Regions from separate parts of the Homo sapiens genome. Here all the other regions are linked to region 3. The links are contacts of gene promoters, found by promoter capture Hi-C in human tissues and cell types (Jung and others, 2019). All regions are on one chromosome and are shown on one strand. Each heading gives the region's core, a stretch centred on a gene start or on the middle of the fragment in contact. The rest is flanking DNA. Distances are from core to core; before and after follow the strand shown.

What was found. The method cuts DNA at HindIII sites, captures the fragments that hold promoters and counts their contacts. A contact is called where the count stands out against the background at its distance.
Region 1: a contact is called between a fragment that was not itself captured here and the fragment with the promoter of C10orf126 in region 3, in 2 of the 25 tissues and cell types used here (IMR-90 fibroblasts and fat).
Region 2: a contact is called between a fragment that was not itself captured here and the fragment with the promoter of C10orf126 in region 3, in 1 of the 25 tissues and cell types used here (bladder).

What each region holds. Positions count from the first base shown.
Region 1 is chr10:28,893,724-28,896,689 of GRCh38, reverse strand. No RefSeq gene overlaps it. Among named protein-coding and RNA genes, the nearest start is that of C10orf126, 49 kb to the right of the region's middle. The HindIII fragment of the contact is 3,266 bases long and covers 1-2,959 here.
Region 2 is chr10:28,791,390-28,794,158 of GRCh38, reverse strand. The region is part of intron 2 of LINC01517 (long intergenic non-protein coding RNA 1517); the gene reads right to left. It overlaps LINC00837 (long intergenic non-protein coding RNA 837), which reads left to right. Exons shown (of 2, transcript NR_038376.1): 2 at 1,215-2,769. Among named protein-coding and RNA genes, the nearest start is that of LINC00837, 3.3 kb to the left of the region's middle. The HindIII fragment of the contact is 7,810 bases long and covers 1-2,769 here.
Region 3 is chr10:28,845,073-28,847,807 of GRCh38, reverse strand. It overlaps C10orf126 (chromosome 10 open reading frame 126), which reads right to left and starts at 1,400. Exons shown (of 5, transcript NR_164114.1): 1 at 1,345-1,400; 2 at 545-689. The HindIII fragment of the contact is 9,674 bases long and covers 1-2,735 here.

The sequences.
Region 1 (2,966 bases), core at 77-2,576, 49 kb before region 3:
AATACACCAATCGGCACTCTGTATCTAGCTCAAGGTTTGTAAACACACCAATCAGCACCCTGTGTCTAGCTCAGGGTTTGTGAATGCACCAATCCACACTCCGTATCTAGCTACTCTGGTGGGGCCTTGGAGAACCCTTGTGTCTAGCTCAGGGATTGTAATTACACCAATGGGCACTCTGTATCTAGCTCAAGGTTTGTAAACACACCAATCAGCACCCTGTGTCTAGCTCAGGGTTTGTGAATGCACCAATGGACACTCTAGCTACTATGGTGGGGCCTTGGAGAACCTTTGTGTGGACACTCTGTGTCTAGCTAATCTGGTGGGGAGGTGGAGAACCTTTATGTGGACACTCTGTGTCTAGCTAATCTGGTGGGGAGGTGGAGAACCTTTGTGTCTTCCTCAGGGATTGTAAACGCACCAGTCAGCGCCCTGTCAAAACAGACCACTCAGCTCTACCAATCAGCAGGATGTGGGTGGGGCCAGATAAGAGAATAAAAGCAGGCTGCCTGAGCCGGCACTGGCAACTCGCTCGGGTCCCCTTCCACACCGTGGAAGCTTTGTTCTTTCGCTGTTTGCAATAAATCTTGCAGCTGCTCACTCTTTGGGTCCACACTGCCTTTATGAGCTGTGACACTCACTGGGAAGGTCTGCAGCTTCACTCCTGAAGCCAACGAGACCACAAACCCACGGGGAGGAATGAACAACTCCAGACACGCCACCTTAAGAGCTGTAACACTCACCGCGAAGGTCCGCAGCTTCACTCCTGAGCCAGAGATACCACGAACCCCCTCAGAAGGAAGAAACTCTGAACACGTCCAAACACCAGAAGGAACAAACTCCGGACACGCCGCCTTTAAGAACTGTAACACTCATCTTGAGGGTCCGCGGCTTCATTCTTGAAGTCAGTGAGACCAAGAACCCACCAATTCCGGACACACTATCTTGATGGATATGGAGTCATAGCGTTTGAAAAGAAAAAAAATATTGAGAACTGAGAAAAGGCACTTTGGGAGGTCGAGGTGGGCAGATCACCTGAGGTCAGGAGTTCAAGACCAGCCTGGACAACACGGTAAAACCCCGTCTCTATTAAAAATACAAAAATTAGATGGGCGTGGTGGCAGGTGACTGTAATCCCAGCTACTTGGGAGGCTGAGACAGGAGGATGGCTGAAACCCAGGAGGCAGAGGTTGCAGTGAGCCGAGACCATGCCATTGCTCTGCAGCCTGGCAACAAGGCATGCCATTGCCCTGCAACAAGAGAGAAATCCCCCCGCCCCCCCCAAAAAAAAAAAAACTAGAAAAGGAAAGGAAGGTATAGTGGAGAGTGCCGTTAGTTCACTGAAATTCATTTTCCATTTCTTCCTGAGCACAGTCTAGACTACATTTTCCAGCGACTTTTGCAATTAGGTATGGCGTCCAGTCCAGTGGATCATGAGCAAGCAATGAGGAACCCAGGCCTTCAGGGAGTGGGCATGTCTCGTCCATGCTCTTTCCCCTTCTCACAATGGAAACTCAGACATGCCTCTATAATCAGCTTCAGCCATGCAGAAGACAATTCTCCCAGAGAACGGGGCAGGGGAGGACAGAGCAACGACTCAAAAGAAACCTGTGTCCTTAAATAGTGGTGGAACAGAACAGGCTGCACCTGGAACATTTATTTTGGATGGTTATACAAAAGAAACTTCTTCATCTTTTAAACTTCTATACTGTTGAGACTGTGTTATGGCAGCTCAGCCTTTTACCCTACCTAATATAAAAATGATTCTCAAATCAGATCAGAAAGAGATTCTCCAGGTCCCATCTTTCCTTTACCAGCTCTCCATATGTCACATGTTGGCTGGGCAGGGTGGCTCACATCTATATCGCAACACTTTGGGAGGCAGGTATGAGAGGATCACTTGAGTTCAGGAGGTTGAGACCAGCCTGGGCAACGTGGCGAAGCCCTGTCTCTACAAAAAATAAAAAAAAATTAGCCAGGTATGAGGAGGTGCACCTGTAGTCCCAGCTACTCAGGAGGCTGAGGTGGGCTGCACTCCAGCCTGGGCAACAGAATGAGACCCTGTCTCAAAAAAAAAAAAAAAAAAAAAAAAAAAAAAGTCACACATCACTGTGCGGAAAGCCAAACCTTGGCCAAGACGAGGGCCAATGATTCCCCCAGCCCCTCAACTCTTTCCTCAGGCAAGCAGCTCACTCGAGCAGCAGTGATGATCTTCAGCTCTCCCTTTGGAAGAGTTTGTTGCTGTCATCTTAAGGCAGCAGGCAGCCAAAGGTTCTCAGGCTCGCGAGGGCTGGGTGACTTTCCTTCTGAGCAGGGGCAACCCAGTCCATAGTTCACAGAATCTCTTTCCTACCCAGAGGCCAGCAAGGAATTGTGAATGCAGGAGTCAAGTGAAATATGTGGAAATAGCCCGAATGCCTGCGTCTTTTAAGACTCACATATGAGAAGGAAATAATCATTTTTCCAGAGAGAATTCTGTATGGAGGATTATTCAGAGTGAGGTGTTACCCTACTGCTCAGAAGCAGGCAATGAGTTTAACTCATTCCCTGAAGTGATTTTTACCTTTGATTTTAAAAAGTGATGGAGATCAAAGAACATGATATGTTTGGGTTGTGAGTAGATTTATACACAAGATTAATGTGTTACTGATTAATACATTAGATTTTCATTCATATGTAGGTTTAAAGTGAACTTTCTGTAATGGTGGGTATGTTCTGTATCTGTGCTGACCTATATGGTAGCCACTATCCACATGTAGCTAATAAGCACCTGAAATGTAGCTAGTACAAATGAAGAAATGTGTGTGTGTGTGTGTGTGTGTGTATATATATATATATATATATAAAATATATATAAATTTTTTCTGTTGCCCGGGCTAGAGTGCAGTGCCATGATCTTGGCTCACTACAATCTCCGTCTCCCAGGTTCAAGCAATTCTCCCACCTCAGCCTCCCGAGTAGCTGTG
Region 2 (2,769 bases), core at 81-2,580, 54 kb after region 3:
TTTTTTTGTAGAGATGGGGTCTCACCTTGTTGTACAGGCTGGTCTTGAACTCCTGGCCTCAAGCAGTCCTCCTGCCTTGGCCTCCCAAAGCGCTGGGATTGCAGGTGCGAGCCATTGCACCTGACCCCAATAAACATTTTAAGAATGTTTGGTGCAAGCCAGGGGTGAGTTGCGCCAGAGGTCTCATATCCAGAGGTCTGAGAACCAGGAGAGTCAATGTTGTCAGCCTCAATTTGAAGCAGAAGGCCTGGGAATGAGAGGAGAATGGGGCTCAGAGGGTGCTGGAGCAAGTCTGGAGTCTGAAGGCCAGAAAATCTAGAGTTCTGATGTCTGAAGATGGGGGAAAAAGATGGATGTTCCAGCTGCAGAAGAGAGAGCAAATTTGCCCTTCCTCGGCCTTTTTGTTGTATCAGGGCCCTAAAGTGGTTGGATGATGGCCATCTACACTGGGGAAGGCAAATCTTCCTCACTCAGTCTCCTGATTCAAATGCTAATCTCTTCCTGAAACGCCCTGCGGACACACCCAGAAATAATCTTTTACCAGCTGTCTGGGTATCCTTTAACCCAGTTAAGTTGACCCATAAAACTAACAATCACATTGGCATTTTAAATACATATAAAATCATTTGCATTAAAATAGTAATACATTCACATTGGCATTTTAAATACATATAAAATCATTTACATTAAAATAGTAATACATATATTTGTAATCGATATAAAACATATATACGTATTTAGATATGTATGCTCTGTAATTCAGCAATTTCACTTCTAGGAATAAATTCTACAGAAATAACCAAATGAATATACTAAAAAGTGCTCTACACTTTTAATGGAGTGTTGTTTATATTTCACTGGAAACAAATGTCCATAAATTGGGGATCGGTTAAATAAATTATAGGACTTTTTGAACTAGATGGAATACTGTACAGCCTCTGAAAATAACATACTCATTGAATGCAAAGATATTCACAGCATTAATAATAACAAATTAACATTAATTAAAGTGACCAAAAGCAGGCTATTAAGCAACCCATATGGTAGAATCACATCAATATAAAACTGTATACATCTAATAAGAATAGAAATTTTTAAATTGGTAAAAAACAAAAGGCAATCATGGTTGCCTCTGGGCGATAGGTTTGTATGTGATTTTCACTTCTTGGTGAACCCGCTAAAGATTCAGTTTTTTTGTTTGTTTTGTTTTTCAGGTTTCCTGCACCACAAGGTTCCTTTCACTTAAAAAAATTTTTTTTTATATTACACCATCTTTATTTGTACCTTACCGTCTAAGGCTATCAATCAAACTTCAGTAAGAACAGTTTCAGCATCAACTAACGAACAGTAGCCAAACCAGAGAGCAGTCAAAAGTGTTTTAAAGGGAGCAGCATCAGCTGATGTTCTGCCAAGTCTCTGGGTGTTCAGGACCATGGTCCCCCGGCACTTCCAGGCCCCTGTGGGCTGCAGGTGGATCCCCAGGAGCCAAAGGGCCGCTCAGGAAAGGGTGGAACTTGGCCTCGCAATCAGCTGGCTTCTGCCTATTATGGTCATCTTCTTTCCAGAGGTCTTGCTATCTCAGTGGACGTGGCTGTCATCCAGCCGTCCTGGGCTGTTTTCTCATAGAAGAGGATCTCCCTCTGAAAACTGTGTCATCCTTCAATTCCTGGGCCAAGTCTGGGGACACATCTTTTCTTAAAGCTTGCTGGTATGACGAGCAGTTCCCATTTTCCTGCACTTTACGAAGTCTCTGAGGTGCAAGCAGTAGACATCCTTCTCCATGGACTCCCCCTGAGGCTGCTTCATGTGTTTTCAGGGCAGTTCAGGCAGATCGGAAACCACTGGCTGCAGCTTCGGGATGTCCCTCTCCAGCTGTGCCCTTGAACCCTGCAGAGAGACCTGCTCGCTGAGCAGACCTTGGGCTTGTGCTGTGAGTTCTGTACTCCTTTGGGTTTCTTCTCACAATCGTATGTCTGCTTTACCAGTCTTTCCCTCGGGACATTCGAAGGAAGCACCTAAATTACCATTGTCATCCATGCTTTCAGAGGGACTTGCGGCCACGATGCTGGGGGACCACCCTGTTCTGCTTCCCTGTTCCCCTCCACTGCCAAGTCCTCATTTTCCATGTCGTCTTTCCTGGTGCAGATGAAGGGTGCTCAGCAGAGCGTGAGCCACCAGGGAAGCCACTCGCCTACTCCAGTTCGAATATTGGGGACTTGAGGCCATCTTGTCTTTTTTGTGTGTGTGTGGCGTCTGATTTACAACTTCTTGGTCGGGCAGCTCTGTGGGTTGCTGATGGTCCATGCTGTCATTCACATCGTCCGTGGTGTGCACTGGAAGATCTCCATGCTGTGAAGCGTGCAGGATGTGCTTCACATCAGTCACTTGGGGAAGTTCAGGAGGCTGCTTTTTCATGCTTTTTTCAGAAGCTCGCCTAGGTTAGGTCCTGATCGGAAGACCTGCTCATTTCCATTAGAACCTTCAAGCAGAGTGTTTGGAGCAATCAAGGACTGGCCCCAGCATGGATAACAGGTAGCTACCACTGGTGTGGGCTGCTGGCTGCATCTTGGCGCAGGCCTTTCTGTGGGCCTCACCTTAGACTGAAGCCCTTTGGGCCAGCCCTTCCCTCCTTCTCACTGCGTGTCGTCTCCTGACCAGAGAGGCCATCACAGCGGTGCACGCCCAGCTCACCCATAGTATCCCTAGGGTCACTGGCACTGGTCCCAGGATTCTGTACATCACTACTTACTGCTGCCCACAGGTGGGCCA
Region 3 (2,735 bases), core at 151-2,650:
AAGTCACTGACATTGAACGTTTTAGGCAGGGCTCAGTGGCCCGTGCCTGTAATCCCAACACTTTGGGAGGACAAGGCAAGAGGATCACTAAAGGCCAGGAGTTCAAGACCAGCCTGAGCCTTGCTCTGTTGCCCAGGCTGGAGTGCAGTGGCATGATCATAGCTCACTGCAGCCTCGAGCTCCTGCGCTCAAGCAATCCTCCCGCCTCAACCTCCTGAGTAGTTGGGACTCCAGGCATGAGCCACCATGCCTGGCCGCAACATTCAGATGGATTTTTAAACTACCTGAGCTAAGTTAATTTCCTCATAGATTGGATGTGGATGTGAGAGCAAAAGAAGAGTCAAGGATGACCCAAGGGTTTGCTTTGAGCACATTCCTCAGTGCTTCCAGGGCATATGGCCTCTGAATGGTGCCCATGGGCTTATAAATCCATCTCCTCCCAAGAGATAACACATTTATTTTGTCCCTGGACCTTATGAAAGTTGTCAGAATCAAAATAGAATCACTAGTGTTTTTTAAGGAAAACAACAAACAAACAAAAAACCTGAACTGGATGCAGTGGTTCATGGCTGTAGTCGCAACTCAGGAAGCTGAGGCAGGAGGACTATTTGAGCTCAGGAGGTTGAGGCTGCAGTGAGCTATGATCACACCATTGCACTCCAGCCTGGGCGACAGAAAGAGGCCCATCTCTAAAAAACAAACATAAAAAGACTTCACTCTCATCACTCTTGAGATTAAGGATTTACCTAAGTAGTAAAATATGTCAGATCAGATTCTGGCCTCAGGAACTCTGAATCTGGGATGTGAAAAGGTTTCTGGAGAGGCATTCTGTTTCTCATATCATTAACCACAGGAAGATATTATTTGGTATACAAGAGGACATTGCTTAAAGAGGTGAGAAACAGAAACTATCTCTCCCTTATATTTCTCCAAATACCTTGTAAAGTTGTGAGTTAAAGAAAAAAGAATGATGTTCACTCAAAGGGGAGATGCAAAAATAAAAAGGTAAAACCTTTTCCCTTACCCTAAGGAGATAATGTGTGCATTTTAAAAAAGTTCTAATATTGTTTCTGCAAGTCAATATATAAGCATTATTGAAAAGTCCAATCTTGCCTGTGTTTTACAGCTCTCAGCTCCTTTCAGGAAGCAACTAAATCAGAAAACAGTGTTCTCTCTTCCTTGGAGCTGGCACAGGTTTTGATAACATCGATTGAATGCCAAGCGTAAGTACAGATTGGAAGTTAGAAGTATTGCTATTGACCGTTTTCTAATATGTCCTTCAGCTCAGTAATTAATCGATTTGTGACAAAATGAATAAGAAGCTGAGGTCTTCTAAGAGCTTACCATGTGGCAGACGCGAGCTCAGTGCTGTACATTCGCATTCATGCTCTTCATCCCTGTCTCTCAAGCCACTCGTCACACCCACACTCTCCGGGCCAGGAGGCTTGCACAACCTGCACTGGGAAACTTTCTCCCACCTGTTCTTGACTCCTGAAACCCCTCCACGGTGCCATCAGCCTGATCCACTAATAGCAAAACGCCTCACATCCCAAACTAACTTCCAAATAGTCCCTCCTTGTTCTGACAAAAACTGACTCTTCCCTGAGGACGATGCTCACATCTTCTCTCATGCGCTGGCTGTTTTTCTTTTTCTTTTTTTGAGATGGAGTCTCCCTCTGTAGCCAGGCTGGAGTGCAGTGGTGCGGTCTCAGCTCACTGCAACCTCCACCTCCCGGGTTCAAGTGGTTCTCCTACCTCAGCCTCCCAAGTAGCTGGGATTACAGGCACACACCACCACACCCAGCTAATTTTTGTATTTTTAGTGGAGACGGGGTTTCACCATGTTGACCAGGATGGTCTCAATCTCTTGACCTCGTGATCTGCCCGTCTCAGCCCCCCAAAGTGCTGGGATTACAGGCGTGAGCCACTGCGCCCAGCCACTGGCTGTTTTTCATTCCAGGCCCTCCTGCCACCTCCTGCAGACCTGGAGGTGATGGAGGGACCCTGCTGGTCCTCTTTTCCCCTTCCAGAACCTTCTCCTTCCCTTCTACTGCAAATCTCGTACCATCATCATCTATCACCCCTGAAACTGTCCCTAGAAACTTTATACAATTAATCAGAAGAGAAGGGAGGGAGAGAAACAAAAATAAGCCAAGCTTGCACATACTCAGTGTTAGTCATGGGGTCAGCTGTTCTCTGATCCTTCCTCATAGTGTTTTGCTACCTATTGCTCCAGAATCACACAGACCCTGTCACAAGATTAGAGTCCCCCTTCACTGCTCCACAGATAACAACTGAACATTGTGAAATGTTGCTTTCCATTTGAGATATTCTTGTAGGTCATGCATACTGATGAAACTACTGACGCCAGCTGGTCTGAAGGACCCCACGAGAAGCTGACTCACTGAAGAATGCAGTTTCTACATCCTGATGATTTCATCCCCCTTTCCCCAACCAATCAATGACTATAGTTTTTCAGCCCCTCACCCCCCATAATCCCCTTGAAAACCTCAGCCTAGAACTCTTCGGGGAGATGGATTTGAGGGTCTTCTCCCATCTGCTCACTCGGCCTCCCTGCTGTCATCAAACCCTCTCTCTGCTGCAAAGCCTGCTGTCTTGGTGTATTGGTCTGTTTCTGCACAACAGGCATACAAACATGTTGGTCCTGTAATACCCCTGCCCAACATTGTTCACCACCTTTTTCAACAACATCAGTTCTCAGCCCATTGGCATCC